2 separate regions of the Homo sapiens genome follow, and region 1 is linked to region 2. Evidence: promoter capture Hi-C in 16 types of primary human blood cells and fetal thymus (Javierre and others, 2016). All regions are on one chromosome and are shown on one strand. Each heading gives the region's core, a stretch centred on a gene start or on the middle of the fragment in contact. The rest is flanking DNA. Distances are from core to core; before and after follow the strand shown.

Region 1 (3,037 bases), core at 282-2,781, 4.2 Mb before region 2:
TTCTTGGCTAAAGGACTAATATTCTTTCCTTGATGTCTTTAAACAAATGTTATTCGGCTTGCTTTGTTTTTTCTGGACACATTGTTACCGACATTAAAAAGAAGGTAACATAAACTTTTTGCCAATTGTTTTTTCCTAGAGGAGATTCTTAGTTGTACAAAAATTAACCTATTCAAATAGCTCAACTGAAGGGGGGATGGTATTTACTGAAAAATGCTAAGATCTTATGAATCTGAGAAGAGCAAATGAAGATTTGGGCTTTTATAACTGAAGTCAAGAACTGAGTTTCCTTGCTCCTTCTTTTTCAGTGTTTTCTCCATTCTTCTTTCTCACAGTTAGTTTCCTGAGTATATTCCTCTTGCACAGAAGGCTATACGGCCATCTCAACATTGACGATACATGATCTTTTAGCTTAAATCCTTGTGTCAGATGGACTCAGACTTCCAGTGCCTCAATTCTAAAATCCTTACAGATAAATCTTATTAATTGTTAGCAATATGCAGCTGAGCTTAGCTCAGGAGCCCCTCCCTGACTACTCTGATGTGTTCAAGGATTAACAAGTATGGTCATGCAGACTTGAATGAGGTAGTCTCTATTGAAGTAGTTGTGGTTTGAGTAGACATTCATACTTGTGTCTATTACAGTCCCTATGCTGTGTCTAAATCCATGGCCTTAAAACTTTTTCCACCACAACCCAGAGGAATAAATACGTTTTTAAATCCCATTCCAGCATTCATCTATGTATAAATTCTTGAAACAGTACTTTCCCTTATTACATGTGATACACTCTCATATTTCCTTTTTTTATTTATTTCTATCTCAATTCATTCCATTAAATAAAAGCTTGGTGGTCTTGGCTAACATAATTGATTTCATGACTCACTAATGATTTGCAACTTTAGTTTCAAAAGCACTGGTCTTCATATTGTTTTCCTTTGTAGCTCTTATAATTACAGTTGGCACTTCTGTTATATTTTTGTAGTTTTCTTTGTAGCAGATATCACAATTATAATAGCCTCCCTTGTTAAACTGTAAACCACATTAAAGCAGAGACTGTGTCTGTCTTGTTTACTTCTGTATTCCCAGCACCTAACAGAGTTCCTGGCACACAGTAGATGCTCAATTGAGTAAATATTGATGAATGAGTACAAGAAGACCCAAACAGATGGCACCCTTAATGGCTCACCTGGTTCTTTGCAAGGAGGAGATTCAGATACATATAAAATTCGCTAATTTGGTATAGCCCTGCTGATAGAGAAAGCAGATGGAAAGGCCCAGCAGGAGGCTCAGTGGAGCAAGCAGGCCAGGCCAGAGAGCTAGGTTCCCACATAGTTACCGACAGCTGAGTGAAATTCTTTCACCAGGGAAAATTGACTGTTTTAAGGGAAGGATCTGTGTCAGGGCTGAGCTCAGGTCTCTTGATTCTTTATCTAAAATGTATTCCACCACACTACAATGACTTTTTGGTTAGATTTCCAAAATTTCATTTTTGGTATTTTAATTTTTCCCTTTTTAGCTCATAATAAAGAAAGATGGAGAAAGAACCACACTTTTTTTTTTTTTTGACATAAAACACCATGGTACCTGTTTTCCAATGAGATGAAGACATCTGGTTAGGGAGATTAATAGCACACAGAGCTCTCTTCCCTCTCCTCTTGCTATCCTTATCCTATTTAGTGACTGACTCCCATCCCATCAAGATTCATTTAACTAACTTCTGCAATATATGACTCCTACTTTTCTGTAACAGTTATTTCAAAAACTACTTTTCATAAGTGGATATTTTAAATGGTGTCACCTACTTTCTTTTCCCATATGCACAGATTTTGAATCTATAGGACAATTTAATCATTATTATGGTTTCATCTATAGATTTACTGAATAATCTATAGTTACAAAGCTGAATTTATATAAAAAGCAATTCACAGATTGATAAACTTTCTATATAGCTTCCTGGTGTCCTCAAAGCAGGGCTGAGAGGACTATTACTTTAACGCTCAATCAGTTTCATCTGTTCTAAATATTAATTTATAAGGTGAGAATACTCCACTTCTCAAAATTAGCCAACTTAATATTGAATTAAATGGTCAAAGTACAATTCAATTTATTATAACTGGGTATGATATGTAAATTTATCATCCACACATATTCATAACTCTTTTGGGAGGGGAGAATTTATATGTCAGGCCAGTGTTTCTCAACCCTTTTTAATAGACTGTGTAAGCTTGCAGGGTACAGTAGACAGACTTCTACTTCTACTTCTACAGTAGACTGACTTCAGACAGTAGGGAAGCTTCCTTCTGTTGTAGATGACCATTCCAGCTTTAGTCAAATAAATATGGGAATACCTGAAGCAGGTATAAATTTTGTCCACAGTACTTGAATTAATGCATTCATAGCTTTTGGGGGGCAATCCTTTGCTCTTCAGTCCAATCCCATTTGATTCCTTAAAGAGAGTAGCTCTATACATTTTGTACTAAGCTCAGAGTGGGAATTTTTGCTAGGGCTGAAACTCTTGGCCTCTTGTGTTACATCTTCTCAGAACCTTCTCAGAAGGTTCACTTTCGTCTAAGGTTCTGCTAATTCTCCTGGCACTCTGGGAGCACGGTTCTGGTTTCTGCTCTATGAGTGACCCATAAACTCTGCCAATTTATTCTAAGTCCCACTGAGAAAAATTCTTAAAGAGTTACTATTTGTCATTTAGGATATATTTTACATAAAGAGTAAATAAATATACATGTATGTACACACATATGTGTATATATATGTATAATGAATATGTATACACGCATATATATGTTATACTACGCTTTCTCTTCCTATAAATATATACTCTATATGTAGTCTAAAAATGCTTTGTTATTGAAGATCTGTTTAGCTAGTAAGTTTCTTTTCATTCATGAAAAAGACAAAATATATGTTTCTAGAGGTTATTTAGTAATTACATAACATAAATTGGATATAGAAGTTATATAAAGTTTAATCTCTAATACTGTAAAAATATCTCTTGAGGGTATTGTGGTCTTGTTTTCAAAGA
Region 2 (2,769 bases), core at 232-2,731:
AATCACAAATCTAAGAATTAATTTAAATTTTCATTATATTGAGGAATTTGTGGAAAAATTGAGTTGTAAATTACTGAGGAGTTACTCAGGATGTTTGTAGTCTATTATTAATGTGCCAGATATAAGTGATTAAGTACAGGATGCTTCCAATGCAGGACATCTTGGAAAGTATAATTGCATTTAGGTAAGAAAATATATAACTTAAAAATCATATCTATCAACATCATTTAAAATTTGACATCAAACTTTCTCCAGCAACAAATTTGTGATATATCTACACAAACAATTTATTAAGCAGACATTAGTTTCTTAAATTGTTCAGGACAGTCTGTACTATCGGAATGAGCATTAACAGATGTTTTATCCAACATTTCAGTAAGTTCCATCCTGGAAATTCTTTTTTAATAAATACTTTAATTTCTTTGTTTAATCGTCTAATATACTTCTTTGGGAAAGCTGTCACGTTTCTTTATCCACAGATATCGTGGTATCACACCCCCCTCCAAAAGCTTGCAGAGGGGAACCAGTCAAGTTGAAGTATTCTCTTAAAGATTTCAAAATTAAGAATTGTTTTAAAAATCTACATTTCCTAAACTCTAGGTTTTTTTTTTTCTTTGTAGCCGACACCATGATCCAAATAAAGAGCAAACAGTTCAGGGTTAGCAGAAGAGAGATTTAAACACATCTGGCAACAATGAACACAAAAATTAGTTCAGTAGTTACAGATATATGTGTAAATAAAGGTGAAAGGCAAATAAAAGCAAATGTAATAAATACAAAGTGATTACTTTTCAAAACTCTGCATTATGATCAACCACAGAGTAAGTGAGACTCCGAGACCCATTAAGTAGTTATTCTTTCACCTCTTTCTTACAGCTGATAACATGGAAAGTTTAAAGACCCTTCCGGGGGGAGAAATGTTTTCCAGTTGTCAAGATTCAAGCTTAGCTAATATTAGAGCTAATTTTAAAAGACATTGTTCTGTGATTAAGGTATTTGTTCAGAAATATGTCTTTTAATCCATTTAGATTTTTAATACTTGCTAAATTTATTTTCTAGAATACCATGGTAAACAATATTATCTAGTAGTATTAGATTTTGTATTCATGTTGGGGTAGTAGGCTGTATTTTCTCTAGCATGTGAAATAAGTGAGACTATGTTTCAACATTATTTCAGTGCTATCTACTAAATTCTATAATAGAAACATTGCCAAACTATATGAGAATACTACTTAGAATAAATATATTTATTTTGAATGTGCACTTACCCAGTCCAGCTCTTAAGGAAATTCTTTGTGAAATATTCTCAGGATGGAACTTTACTTTCTGAGATTCCGCAGAAGAGATTTACCCACAAGCAAGGTGGGAAAGAGTGAAAGCTTTGCAATGTGATCCTGCAATTAGGATGAGATTCAGTTAGCAGAGCTTGATGGTCCTAAAGCAGGAGGTGACACTCTCTGCTGGAGAGAGAGAGGTTGTTCTGAGTAGATTGTAAGTGTTGTCAGATTGTAAGTGATCAGCAGCAGAAGGGAAACATCAGAGCTTCCTGTTACATCACTCTGACCCCGCCTGCAGTTAGTGTTAGGTTACTTTCTTTCTCAAATAGCATACCCCAGGAAAGCAGCACTCCTTTCTTATTGTGAGACAAGAGCAAGAAGCAGCCTGAACAGAGAGAGATCATAGGCTGTGTGAATACATTGTTACCAGTAAAAAGCTGGCTGGCTTTCACCTTGACTGAGTTCTGTTAGAACTTGCCAAACAAGCTACTTGTGATTTGAAGGAAATCTGAATATAGTATTCTGCTCAAAGAATCAAAGGAGTTAGGCGTGTGTGTGTGTGTGTGTGTGTGTGTGTGTGTGTGTGTGTTGAATTATAGCTTACAAAGTATCCAGGAAAAAAAATCTAACAAATCTGTGTTCATAGCACAACACAGAAAAAAAAATTAACTGTATTCATCATAACTGGTTTTGTGATTTGGCTCTTCTTAATTTGGAGCTCTGCTAATTGGGTGCTGTTCCTCCATCAGTTCCTAAGTGCAGTTCCTAATCAGTTAATTAGATCAAGAAACTTTATCCTGCAGTTTTTAAATCTTTTATTTTTTCCTTTACCTTCTTCATAAGAACATGAGTGTATGTGTTATAAATTCAGGTTGTGTATGTGTGTGTATAGAGTGTTTCTTTTATAATATATAAGTATATATATTTGACAAAATAGCCTTTTGAATAATTCATAATTTTAAAATTATTGCACACATTTAAAAATATTTGGTATAATTATGTTATTTATAATATAAAATAATTTATACCACAATATTTGTAAGTCAATATAATCTTAAAGAAAATATAGATGTTGTAAACATAATATTATAAAATAATATAAATACAAAGGATACTTTATTTCTTAGACAAAATTTCATCTCAAAGCATAGTTTTTCCTGAATATGTTTAATACATCATTGGATATGATCAGGGGAAAATGTAAATTTAAAATGCTTTTATCATTTTTATAATTTGGTAAATGTTCGATATGAAGCAATAATTATAATCCCTATAACCTAAACAGCACTAAAAGTCACTTAATTTATCAGGGCATAAATTTTCTCATCTATAAACTAGAAGAGATAGATTTTATGTCTAAGGCTTTGAATCGACAAATTTCATAACATTTTGAAATAGATAAGATACGGTGAGGATCATTCAACTCTTAGTAAATTGTTAGTGCAATTCCAGGATAAAATGAGGTGCCATACACCTTGTAGGCAGACAAAGG

Evidence for each region. The method cuts DNA at HindIII sites, captures the fragments that hold promoters and counts their contacts. A CHiCAGO score of 5 or more calls a contact.
Region 1: a fragment that was not itself captured here is called in contact with the fragment with the promoter of CALCRL in region 2 in 1 of 17 cell types (total CD4 T cells); the score reaches 5.1 in total CD4 T cells.

What each region holds. Positions count from the first base shown.
Region 1 is chr2:183,243,387-183,246,423 of GRCh38, forward strand. No RefSeq gene overlaps it. Among named protein-coding and RNA genes, the nearest start is that of NUP35, 120 kb to the left of the region's middle. The HindIII fragment of the contact is 1,381 bases long and covers 842-2,222 here.
Region 2 is chr2:187,446,771-187,449,539 of GRCh38, forward strand. CALCRL (calcitonin receptor like receptor) reads right to left here and starts at 1,482. Exons shown (of 15, transcript NM_005795.6): 1 at 1,269-1,482. All of the region lies in intron 2 of CALCRL-AS1 (CALCRL and TFPI antisense RNA 1), which reads left to right. The HindIII fragment of the contact is 1,657 bases long and covers 1,378-2,769 here.